Linked DNA regions of Homo sapiens: all the other regions are linked to region 3. Evidence: promoter capture Hi-C in 16 types of primary human blood cells and fetal thymus (Javierre and others, 2016). All regions are on one chromosome and are shown on one strand. The core of a region is centred on a gene start or on the middle of the fragment in contact, and the rest is flanking DNA. Distances in the headings are between cores, read along the strand shown. Region 1 overlaps ERN1 (endoplasmic reticulum to nucleus signaling 1). Region 2 overlaps ERN1 (endoplasmic reticulum to nucleus signaling 1). Region 3 holds the start of TEX2 (testis expressed 2).

What was found. Contacts are between HindIII fragments. The CHiCAGO score rates a contact against its expected background, and 5 or more counts as called.
Region 1: a contact is called between a fragment that was not itself captured here and the fragment with the promoter of TEX2 in region 3, in 1 of 17 cell types (endothelial precursors). The highest score is 5.0, in endothelial precursors.
Region 2: a fragment that was not itself captured here is called in contact with the fragment with the promoter of TEX2 in region 3 in 1 of 17 cell types (monocytes); the score reaches 5.8 in monocytes.

Annotation. Positions count from the first base shown.
Region 1 is chr17:64,073,555-64,077,835 of GRCh38, reverse strand. It overlaps ERN1 (endoplasmic reticulum to nucleus signaling 1), which reads left to right. Exons shown (of 22, transcript NM_001433.5): 5 at 2,589-2,661. Among named protein-coding and RNA genes, the nearest start is that of ERN1, 54 kb to the left of the region's middle. RefSeq lists silencers at 2,593-2,887, 3,371-3,430 and an enhancer at 3,071-3,150. The HindIII fragment of the contact is 608 bases long and covers 1,310-1,917 here.
Region 2 is chr17:64,100,774-64,104,769 of GRCh38, reverse strand. All of the region lies in intron 1 of ERN1 (endoplasmic reticulum to nucleus signaling 1), which reads left to right. Among named protein-coding and RNA genes, the nearest start is that of ERN1, 27 kb to the left of the region's middle. RefSeq lists an enhancer at 646-695. The HindIII fragment of the contact is 3,808 bases long and covers 1-3,186 here.
Region 3 is chr17:64,262,005-64,265,691 of GRCh38, reverse strand. It overlaps TEX2 (testis expressed 2), which reads left to right and starts at 2,432. Exons shown (of 12, transcript NM_001288732.2): 1 at 2,432-2,524. RefSeq lists a silencer at 2,235-2,844. The HindIII fragment of the contact is 6,481 bases long and covers 2,157-3,687 here.

The DNA of each region.
Region 1 (4,281 bases), core at 364-2,863, 190 kb after region 3:
AGGTGGAGCTTGCAGTGAGCTGAGATCACGCCACTACACTCCAGCCTGGGCAACAGAGCGAGACTCCATCTCAAAAAAAAAAAAAAGAAGAAATGCACTTTTGTTCACCAATGGACATGTGCCCAAATGTACAGCAGCACCATTTATAATAAGCAGAGGGTGGCCAAATAACATCCACAGTGGAGTGGAAAAATAAACTCTGGAAGCGGCATGCACGGTGATGAGGACCAACAGTCTATGACGACACACGCCGCGGATGACTCACAAGCGTGATGTTGAGCAAAACATGACAGACAAAAAAGGCCACACGCTGCCATTCACTTATGTAAAGCCAAAAACAGGAAAAACGAGTCTCTGCTGTTTTGAAGTTAGGATAATAGTTACCCCTGGAGAGTTATGGCTAGAAAGGGGGGCAAGAGAGGAGGGGGGCTTCTGTTTCTTCACCTGGATGCCGGTTACGTGGGTATGTTCACTTTGTGAAACTTGACTGAGCTGTGTGATGATGAGTGCTTTTCTGTTTGCGTATTATGCATCAGTAGGAAGTTTTTAAAGCTTCCAAGTAATTCTCATGGGCAACCAAGGATGAGAACCACTGATCTAGGCTGTAAGTGGATTGTGGACTTTAACTTGGGTGTTTTAAAATTATTTTGTGAATGCCTGTGACCAAAACAGAGGGGAGGAGGGCAAGTTTGTATAGAGCTGTGTGTATTTCACCTTCAACACTGCTCTCCGTTGGTTTCTCTCCACAGCTCTGTAGTCCCCATTTCTTAAGCAATTTGTTTGCCAGAAACTGGGGTGAGTGAGTTGTATAAGTTATCTCATTGGAATCTCTCAGCAGCCCTGTGGGTGATATCCCCGTTTTAGAGGTGTGGAAACAGCCTGGAGAAGTGAAGGAATATGTCCAGGGCTGAGTCTTCTAGTGTTGGAGTTGGTTCTTAAAGAGGATGCCCAGCCGGGCCTGTAATCCCAGCACTTTGGGAGGCCGAGGCGGGCGGATCACAAGGTCAGGAGATCGAGACCATCCTGGCTAACACGGTGAAACCCCGTCTCTACTAAAAAATACAAAAAATTAGCCAGGCGCAGTGGCGGGCGCCTGTAGTCCCAGCTACTTGGGAGGCTGAGGCAGGAGAATGGCATCAACCCGGGAGGCGGAGCTTGCAGTGAGCCGAGATCACGCCACTGCACTTCAGCCTGGGTGAGAGTGAGACTCCGTCTCAAAAAAAAAAAAAAAGAGGATGCCCTTCATCACTCCCTTGTGCTCCTTTCTGGGTTGTGGTTTAGCAGCTCCAGAAACAATGTTTCCCAAGCTTGGGCCTTGAATCAGGGCACCAGTGGCAGTGCTCAGCAGAGACCACAGGACTCCAGAAGACTAGAAGATCTGCAGTGCCTTTCTGATTCTCAGAAACACATGGCAAAACCCAGTCATTGCAGCCTCTCTGAAGCATTTTTCCTCCTCTGAGGCTTGGTTTGAATGTTGGGATGATGGGAAAATCCAAGTTATTTAGTATGCAAAGCTCTGCTTATTAAAGCTAGAGAGAAATCTTTTCTTTCTTGGAGAAAAAGGTGACCATGCAGTAGAGGCATTTCTATAAAAGCAGGTATCTATAGAACAATTTCAAAAACACAGAATGTTCTAAAAATAAAGTATACTGAAACAAGCATTAACCAAAAGAGCTCGTCAGATGTCAGCTGTAGACTCAGAAGAATCAGTTTTATGATGAAATGCAGTTGAAACATTTGGATTCCTTTGAGTTTCTTTTCCTGGCACCTATCTTAACTTCCTCTTTAAAACCAAAAGTCTCAATTTTTCTTGTTTTTCAATAGTGAATTATTTACTGAAGAAAACATCAAAACTCTTTTCCACCTCAAACTCTTGTGTTGCCCCTGTAATGGCGACTTCTCCTTTCCCTCGAAGCTTGAGCTTGGCACCAAGGTTGCATCCCTTCAGCATCAATGTCCTGGCTCCCTCCCATGGGGCTCTACAAAGCACTGTCATTTTACTCAGTCTAGCCAGCTCTGGCTCTGTATTCCAAGCCAGGACAATTCTTTCTTAGCATTTCAAAGAATATATAACTCTCCATATTTGTGTAAATCTTTTCAGAAAAGGTTTGTGTCACCCCTGGGAAGCACCCTGGACAGGAGACCTTGAGGGGCCTCTGCACATGGTGTCAAGTAAAGGAGTGGATGTTTACAGAGCTCAGGGACCTGGGAGCTTGTCAAAATAGATGTGGAAAATTAGCTGGGTGTAGTGGCAACATGCCTGTAATCCCAGCTACTTGGGAGGCTGAGGTGAGAGAATCACTTGAACCCAGGAGGCAGAGGTTGCAGTGAGCCAAGATGGTGCCACTGCACTCCAGCCTGGGCGACAGAATGAGACCCTGTCTCAAAAAAATGAAAATAAAAACACAGTAGATGTGGAAGCATAGGGTGCCCCCTTCTCCTTTGTATTCAGTTAGGAAAACTCTCATCTGCAAAGTGCTTCTCTCTTTTTAGCAGAATTAGGTAATAGAAACAAACTGCCTGGTAAAATTGTAATAATTGCACAAGACTTGGTTAACTTTTTTTTTTCTTTTTTTTTTTTTTTAAAGAAACTTCCTTTTACCATCCCAGAATTGGTGCAGGCATCCCCATGCCGAAGTTCAGATGGAATCCTCTACATGGGTAAGAGTTCCTGTCTCCAGAAACTTGTGTCTCTTTGATGTAAGTCCCGGAATCTGGGAAAGTGGCATGCGGAGAGAGAGGGCGCAGTCACCGCCTTGCCAACCCTTTCTTTCCTGGGTTGTGCTTCAGGTGCTGTTCTCCCCAGGATCAGCTGACCAATTAAGAAAGGGCTCCCCCAACTTGGGAGAAGAATTGACATCATTAATATGGTTACTCATTTAACAAGCTTTTAGTTGCTGTGTTGACTTAGTCCTGAGATTCCAAGATTGCAACATACCCAGTGGCAAATGGATGAAATTTAAAGTGAGTACAATCATCTAAGCCAAGGAAGGAAAGCCAGGCTCTGCCTGTTAATTATAGCGCTTTCTTAGTATTTCCTGCTATCAGAATGTTTGATAGAACAGCACTTAATAGCTTGCCTAGATAAACTGCCTTCATACCTATGGGGTCACAGCTTTCAAAGCATCAGATCACCTGCTTTTCTTTTACTATGTTGCTGCCAAAATGTCAATAAAAAAGCATTTGCAACACAAAGGAGAGCTGTATTTATCTTGAAATCATAGTAGCAATAATAGCCCGTATTTATACAGCAGCTTTCTTTTTGAGGAACTGAAAGTGCTTATTGCCTATTCATGCCTCGAGGAGCTTTATGTGTATTTCTGGGTCTCAAGTGCAGGCCAGACTTTTAAGGTTTTGCTCAGGACACTGAGACTCTTGCTTCCTTCCACACCTTCAGAATGAGGAACTCCCAGCCTAGGAATTTGGAGGAAACGATCGGCACAGATTTTTCTCTCTGTGGGCCGTGACCTGGGAACATCTGATAATCTTCTGACCATCCATGTCACTGTGTCCTATCTGGTCTTCCAGCTTTTGCCAGCAATTCATCACTTATAGTCTGCTTAGGATATTGTCTTCTTATCATCTTTGTGCTGTGGCCTCTTAGGCGAGTTCATTAAACATATTTAAGAGCATGGTAGTTGCCCAATCTACCCATTAAAGTAATAACTGAGTTATGTAAACTCTAGTGGTTCTTGAAGTAACCAGCTATGTCATGCTAGATGGAAAAGGTTCGTGGTCCTAGCTCTGTTCTCCTCTACCTTCAGATCATATTCATATTATGATTTTGTCAGTGAGAACAGAGTTGCGATCCATGGGTAAGTTGCACACATGTGGAGCAGGCATGTATGCAACATCTGTTAGAACTTTAGAGGTATAGCATTAGCAAATTACAGGCCAGGTGCAGTGGCTCACAACTGTAATCCCAGTACCTTGGGAGGGTGAGGCAGGAGGTTTGCTTGAGGCCAGGAGTTTGAAACTAGCCTGGTCAACATAGTGAGACCCCGTCTCTACAGAAGAAACATTTTTAAAAAATCAGCCAGGTGTAGGCCAGGTGCAGTGGCTCACGCCTGTAATCCCAACACTTTGGGAGGCTGAGGCGGGCAGATCACGAGGTCAGGAGATCGAGACCATCCTGGCTAACACAGTGAAACCCCATCTCTACTAAAAATACGAAAAATAAGCCAAGCGTGGTAGCACATGCTTGTAGTCCCAGCTACTCAGGAGGCTGAGGCAGCAGTATCGCTTGAACCCTGGAGGCGGAGGTTGCAGTGAGCTGAGATT
Region 2 (3,996 bases), core at 33-2,532, 160 kb after region 3:
TTGGCTCACTGCAACCCCTTCCTCCTGGATTCAAGCGATTCTCCTGACTCAGTCTCCTGGGTGGCTGGGATTACAGGTGTGCACCACCACGCCTGGCTAATTTTTGTATTTTTAGTAGAGACAGGGTTTCACTATGTTGACCAGGCTGTTCTCGAACTCCTGACCTCAGGTGATCCACCTGCCTGGGCCTCCCAAAGTGCTGGGATTACAGGCATTAGCCACCACACCTGGCCCTGACCCTTGTTATCAGGTAGTCAACCTGGGAATCAGTTCTTGAAATGTATGTCTGAAATTGACAAGCTGCATTTTTTTTTTTGGCAAAAGCAACATTTCTGAAACCCCTGATAAGGAACATTCAGCTTTCACACGTTCTGAATCTCAGAGGAGCTTGCAGGGTCTTCCCTGCTGTACTTACCATTGCAGGGGGCAACAAGGCAGTGGTAAGTGGAAACAAACCAAAACTTCAGTGATAAGGCTGCTGAAATCAAGCCCTGTGTTTTTTGTTTGTTTATTTGTTTGTTTTATTTTGAGACAGAGTCTGGCTCTGTTGCTCAGGTTAGAGTGCAGTAGCACTGTCTTGGCTCACTGCAACCTTTGCTTCCCAGGCTCAAGCAATCCTCCCTCCTTGGCTTCCTGAGTAGCTGGGACTACATACATAAACCACAACACCTGGCAAATTAATTTTTTTTTTTTTGTCAAGATGGGGTCTCCCTATATTGCACAGGCTGGCCTGAAACTCCTGGGTTCAAGCAATCCTCCTGCCTGGGCCTCCCAAAGTATTGGAATTACAGGCGTGAGTCACCATGCCCAGGAAGCTGTGGTTTTTTTGCTGGTTGTTCTCTAGCCACTGATGAGCTTGCCTCCCTGCCTGACCAGTCAGTCCCAAATGCAAGTTTAGAAACTGGTGGTTTTTTGTTAGAGGCCATTTCATTTGTTTTTGTGCTGTTTGAACACCTGTCTGCCCCTGTGTCCATAATTCTCTTTACTGAAAACTTTTTCTAAATGAAGTTATTTCAGAAGGCATTTAAGAAAATATTTTTTTCTTACCTGAAATATATATAAGTAGTTAATTAATGGAAGAGCCCTAACAATTAGCTGAATTCACAATATTAGGGAATGATTAAATTGTTGGTGATGTACCTTTCAATCATCTCTGCATAAGCAGTTGATAGCCACTTCTGTATCTTTGTAGTAAATGCAGAGTGAATGGTGGATTTTATGAATGGGGAAGCTGCTGGATTTTGTGTAACATTGCTTTTTTTTTTTTTTTTTTGAGATGGAGTCTTACTCTGTTGCCCAGCCTGGAGTGCAGTGGCGTGATCTCGGCTCACTGCAGCCTCCGCCTCCTGGGTTCAAGCGATTCTCCTGCCTCAGCCTCCCAAGTAGCTGGGATTACAGGTGACTGCCACCACATCCAGCTAATTTTTGTGTTTTTAGTAGAGACAGGGTTTCACCATGTTGGCCAGGCTGGTCTTGAATTCCTGACCTCAAGTGATCCGCCCACCTCGGCCTCCCAAAGGTGCTGGGATTACAGGTGTGAGTCACCACGTCCAGCCGTAACATTGCTTTATGATCAGAACATTGAACATCAGGATCCAGTGCTGGTCTTGTGTTGGCTTTCATAGGAGGGAGACTTGCTGCAGTCCAGCTGAGTAGGGCTGCAGTGAGGACCCTTATACTGCTGAAGCCCACTGAGTGACACATGCTGGACAGAGTCTGATGTCTGTGGGGACCAATTAGCTAATGGATGTTTAGTTTTAGGCTAGACTAGATGCCTGCCACTACCCTTCCCACCCTCCACAGTTACTGTTGGTTACTTCCTACAAGTCACCATCAAAGCCAGGAGTATATATTCCACTTTTTTTTTTTAACCTCCCAACTACTAGTTTTAAAACTGAATCAAATTTCAAATGGTTGTTAACTTGAAACAGATCTGCAGACTCGACATTTTCTTTCCATTTTCAGGCTCTCTGGAAACCAGTGTGTGTGCCGTAGGGTATGTTGCTTGTAGAGAAAAGTGAGCACTGAGGACTGAAATGGCTGGGCAAAGACAAGGCACAAGTTCATCTTTGTGAAGCAGCGTTTTTCAGTGTTCAGGTACAAATAGTTCTCAGCTGTGCTCAGTATCACACAAGGCATCTGGAAACATGTTTAATTCATGTTAGCTATAGCAACTACATTTGAACTCAGGCATGTTCATGCTTTTAAAAATGCCAGAGGGGAAAAAGCCAGAAAATTTGTCATTTTTGTTTGCCTTATGAGAGAATAACACTGTTCCGAGTGGCTCCCAGGAGTTTCGATTTGGTACAGTTGAGAGCCTTGAGAAGAACCTGCCAGTTGTAATAGTTTGTGGCATTTCTGTAGACATTGTGATTGACAGAATTCTCAGTTGCCAAATTCAGCTTCTCTCTAAACTTTGTATTTTTGAGATTTTTCCAAGACTAAATTAGTCATGTGATTAGTGTTGTTGTTGTTTTTGTTTTTGAGACAGAGTCTTGCTCTGTTGCCTAGGCTGGAGTGCAATGGTATGATCTTAGCTCACTGCAACCTCTGCCTCCCGGGTTCAAGCAATTCTCCTGCTTCAGCCTCCCAAGTAGCTGGGATTGCAGGTGTCTGCCACCAGGCCTGGCTGATTTTTTAGTATTTTTTTTTAGTACAGACGGGGTTTCACCATGTTGACTAGGCTGGTCTCAAACTTCTGACCTCAGGTGATCCACCCACCTCGGCCTCCCAAAGTGCTGAGATTACAGGCATGAGCCACCGGTCCCGGCCATGATTAGTGTTTTATTTTGATCCATAAACCAATTGTAGAATGTTGCTCTTCCAGTGGCTTCCAAGATGCTCAGACAAGGCAGGTGGCTTTTGTTTCCACTAGTGCTTCCACTAGTAGCAAAGGAGCACTGATATGTTTTGGTGAATATTAACCCTTTTTAATATTAATACTGTGATAAGATATACTTGGGGGCACTTAGTTCATTATGGTTGTACTGTAGGCTTTAATAACAGCAAACTCTTCTTATTCTTGGATGCATACATTCTTATTGGGAGACCCCTGTGTTTCTAAACTCTGGTCCCTTGTTTGGTGGAGATTAATGATCAAAGGTGGTTGACTTGCCTACTATCCTGAGGTGGAAAGTGCTTCATGTGGAACTTAGGCACTTGCTGAAGCTCCTTCGAATTCAAGCTTCTCTCCTACCTGCTAGCTTGTCCATCTCCTTTCTACTTTGTGAAAACTTCTACTTTGTGAAAAATTTGCTAATCTACAGATTAGCAAATCATATTATTGGAAGTTTAAAAAATGAGAAAAGAAGAAATATTGCTATAATTTTGCAGTATTGTTTTCCCTTTCTTTTTTTTTTGGAGACAGAGCCTCGCTCTATCCCCCAGGCTGGCGTACAGTGGCGTGATCTCAGCTCACTGCAACCTCCACCTCCTGGGTTCAAGTGATTTCTTCTGCCTCAGCGTCTCTAGTAGCTGGGATTACAGGCACCCACCACCACGCCCGGCTAATTTTTGTATTTTTAGTAGAGACGAGGTTTCGCCATGTTGGCCAGGCTGGTCTCGAACATCTGACCTCAAGTGATCTGCCTGCCTCGGCCTCCCAAAGTGCTGGGATTACATGTAGTCATGAGTCACCACGCCTGGCCCTTTTTTTCCCTTTTTCTATCTGCATTTTTCCTCATTGGGTGTGTGGTGGGGACTGTTTGGGCTGCAAGTGACAGAAACCTAATTCTAACAGGCTTAAGCAAAGAGGGGAATTTATTGTAAGGACTGGAGGGTCTCTGAGCCCAAGGGCAAGAACTTAGCTGGGCCTGAGGAGCTGTGGAAGCCAGGGTGGGCTCTCCCAGTCCTTTCAGTCATGTTTCTTCTCAGGCTGCTTTCTGTTTCTGTGTCTTTCTCATTCAGCTTTTTCCATGTGGCAGAAAACACATTCACAGAGCTCTCTGAAGTTTTATTTCCATTTTATTTATTTATTTATTTATTTATTGAGACAGA
Region 3 (3,687 bases), core at 1,183-3,682:
TTCAATGCATCCAAATTCCTCAGATTTCAAAAAGAAGGGATCCTTCTAAGTGTTCATGCTGGATCTTACTGGCTTCTAGTTTGAGATCTGGTTGGTAGTGTATTAATTAATTTAATGCTTACGTGGAGCTTGGTAGGGAAAGGAGGTTGGTGGGCACTCTGAGAGGCACATTGCCAGCTTCCAAGGACCTTTGCAAGGGGCAGCTCCAGGGCCCCTACCCTTTCTCTCTCTCTCTCCCTGAGGCAGGGGGCTGAAGATGTGGCCAAGGAGAGCTTCAGGCTGTGTCTCCATTGGTAACTGCCTTTGTTGCACATTTCCAGAAAACCACAACTGGAAACCTCTTCTGTTGGGACATGAATTCTTTTTCCTTTGGGAAGGGCAACAGAAGCAAGTGGTGATCCCAGGCAGTAATGCCTGCAGCCCAGAGACTGCATTCTCATGAGGCTGATCAATCCTTGTGCAGAGTTGTCCCTGGCAACACAACATCCATCAGAAATCACAGCACAAACAGGGTTATTGTGTGGAGGCCATTCCAAGAGCCTGAGATCTGTGTGGGAGGCAGCTGACCTGCAAGATCTAGTGGGCGAGGGCTGACCTCCAAGTCTGAGGACAATGACTTCTGGGTCAGGCAGGTGTCTGGGATACTAGGAAGGGGAGAGGAATGTTGCCAGGAGGGTAGGCAGGGCTTGCTGGCATTGGAATGAGGCACCAGAGTAGCAGGGCATTCTTCTGGGATCATGACTGGGCCTGGTGGTGAGCCGGAGTGTGTCTGCCATTAAGATATTTATGCACTGTCTCACGGGTCAGAGAACTAGCCTGGCTTCCCTCTGCTTGAGGCATCAAATCTTCTTCCTGCTTGAGGATTTCAATCTTTCAGATGTTGTTTCATCTGGGTCCAGTGCCCTTCTACACTCAGTTCTTGGCATGACTTATTCTGTTATGAGTGTCTTAGTAGGTGACCTCCTCCCTTACTAGCAAGTCTCCCAACCATATTACTAATTCTGAGGATGAAAGGAGTTTGGCTTTCATTTTGCCAATTGAATTTGAATTTCATGACTATGATAGACTCAAAACACGCACCTGAGTGTGGTCCTTGTACCACTTGCATTAGAATCACCTGGAGGGAGGGGTGTCGAAGGCCATCTCAGACTTACTGAATTACAGGTTCTGGGGTGGGACTTAGAGATCTTCATGTTAAAACCCTCCAGGATGATCTGACGTTGAAGATCTGACATTTGGGACCCACTAATGCAGGAGACACACTGACACATCTGTTTGTTGTCTTGGTCCTTTCTTGTGGTGGGTGGGAAGTGCAGAGGGGCAAGGACTACGGGGGAAGGGGGAACTCTCCCTATGTGCCAGTGCTTCTGCCAGCCAACCCAGGTTCGCAGAAGATAAATGCACAATGGGCATTGCCATCCCAGGAAGCTCATTCTAAGTGAGAATTTACCTCGAGAAGTCACTTTACCTCTCTGAGCCTCAGATATTGCCTCTCTAAAAATGAGTAGTTAATACTATATAAGTTCTAAGCTCTAAGAACTCGTGGCCAGGCGCGGTGGCTCACGCCTGTAATCCCAGTACTTTGGGAGGCTGGGTCCGGCGGATCACGAGGTCAAGAGACCGAGACCATCCTGGCCAACATGGTGAAACCCCGTCTCTACTAAAAATACAAAAATTAGCTGGGCATGGTGGCACGCGCCTGTAATCCCAGCTACTCGGAAGGCTGAGGCAGGAGAATCGCTTTAACCCAGGAGGCGGAGGTTGCAGTGAGCCCAGATGACGGCACTGCACTCCAGCCTGGCGACAGAGCGAGACTCCGTCTCAAACAAAAAAACTAGTAACAGAGTTAGTTCAGGATAGGATGTGGTAGTGTGGTAGTCAGGTGGGGGAAGTACATAATGCGGGAAACTGGGAATTTGCCTTTTTAAATCAATGTCTGCAGTTGGATGGGGATAGATACGTCTGATGGCCCTCTAAAATGCAAATCGAGTGAATTTGCCCAGGGGGATACCCCTGGTTCTCCGCGCCTCAGTCACCCCACCTCAACCCCCAGCCCTCGTCTCAAGGGCACTTGTTGCTGCTAGACTGCAGGAAGAGGAAATTAAGAAGTGCAAAGAGCTGGGGACAGTGTGCAGCCCCGTTGGGAGAGTGAAGCTTTTGTCCCCCTCACCTGGGGCTCTTCCAGGTAACCCTCCCCACCACTCCTCTCCCTAGCTCCAAGGGCGGTGGCCCCTTTAACAGACCTGACAAATCGCTCCCCCATTTCCGCGGCCTCACCTCGGCGCGCGGTAGAACTGGATTGGTTGGGCCTGGCGTGCCGTTTGCTCCGCCCCCGCGCCCTCTGGTTGGCGGCGGCGGCCGCGGGCGCGGGGCGGGTCCGCCGGCGGGGCGGGGCGGCGTGTGCCCGGGGGCGGGCGGGCGGCAGGGCAGCAGGACCGCGGCCGGTGCCCCAGCCGAAGCCGGAGTCGCGCGGCCGGGAGCACGGGCGCCGGCATAGTACAATGAGGCAGCCAGCGGATCTTGGGTGAGCAGTCTCAGGGCCAGGCGGGGGCGGTGGAGGGAGCGCCCCGCGGATAAGGCCCGGGCTGGGCGCGGATCGACCCCGCGGGCTTCAAAGTACCGGTCGGGTCCGGCGGCCCTTGGCGTGGCGGGGCTCGGCCCCCCACCCCGCTGTCATGGTTCAGGTATTGAAGGGGACGCCCACCCGCGACACCCCCGGGCAATCCCTTCCTTCGGGGCCCCGCCGGATGGCTCGGGCTCGACTCCGGCGGGAGGAGCTGCCGGCCCCGTCCCCTCAGCCTGCGGTCCCCGGCCCCGGGCAGGGAGGCACCGTCACGCGCAAACTAGAGGAAAACGGCTTGCAATTTTATGAATGGGGCCCCGGGTTCCTGCCGCCCCCCTCACCGGCGACGCGAAATGCTTGAAAGTCGAGAACCGCAGTTACTTTTACTCGAATCTGTCAGAGGTTGTATGCGCCCCGGTGGTTTTTCTCCAACTCCTGGAGAACGCGGGTGGCGGTGGGGTGGTTTGTGTGCTTTAGCAGGGAGGCGGCGGCGTGCCGAAATCCGGGGGATCGGAAGGTTAACAAGTGACATTGGGCTGAGGCCTAGCGCCAGGTGCCTTGCGGGGAGGCGGTGTGGCCGTGGACGCCGTCGCTGCTGGCTGCTGAGCACGGAAACCATACGGTGGAACCGGAGAAGGCGGGGAACGGCTGGCCACATTGCACCACACGCTGCCTAGAGCGTACGGCTGCCATGGGAGTTGGTGCAGGGGAGTCTTCCCCTTTTGAAAACGATTTTTGGAAAACTTAGCCCCTCAGTGGGTTGATAGTTACTTAAACCATCGGTTGTTATGGTTACTGGGCGTCAAATGTAAGGGCAAAGTCTGTTTCCACCCTCGCTCTTTCTCCAGAGCTATGAAGTACTTTGTCACTGTGTTTTACAGACACTGTCCAGGGAGGACATCCTTTTTTAGAGTTGAGGGAAAATTGTGGGCTCCTTGAGGGCAGGGCTCGTGCCACGTTCACGTTTGAAGTGCCAGCGTCTTCACACCATCACCGCTCTGCACATGCATTAAAAGGAATGAGGCTTTTACATGTTTTGAGGATTCTCAGAGGATTCAGAGGAGTCATTTCAGGAGCCAGGTGTAAGCTGGAGGGGAAACAACGAGTGACTTTTATATGGAAAA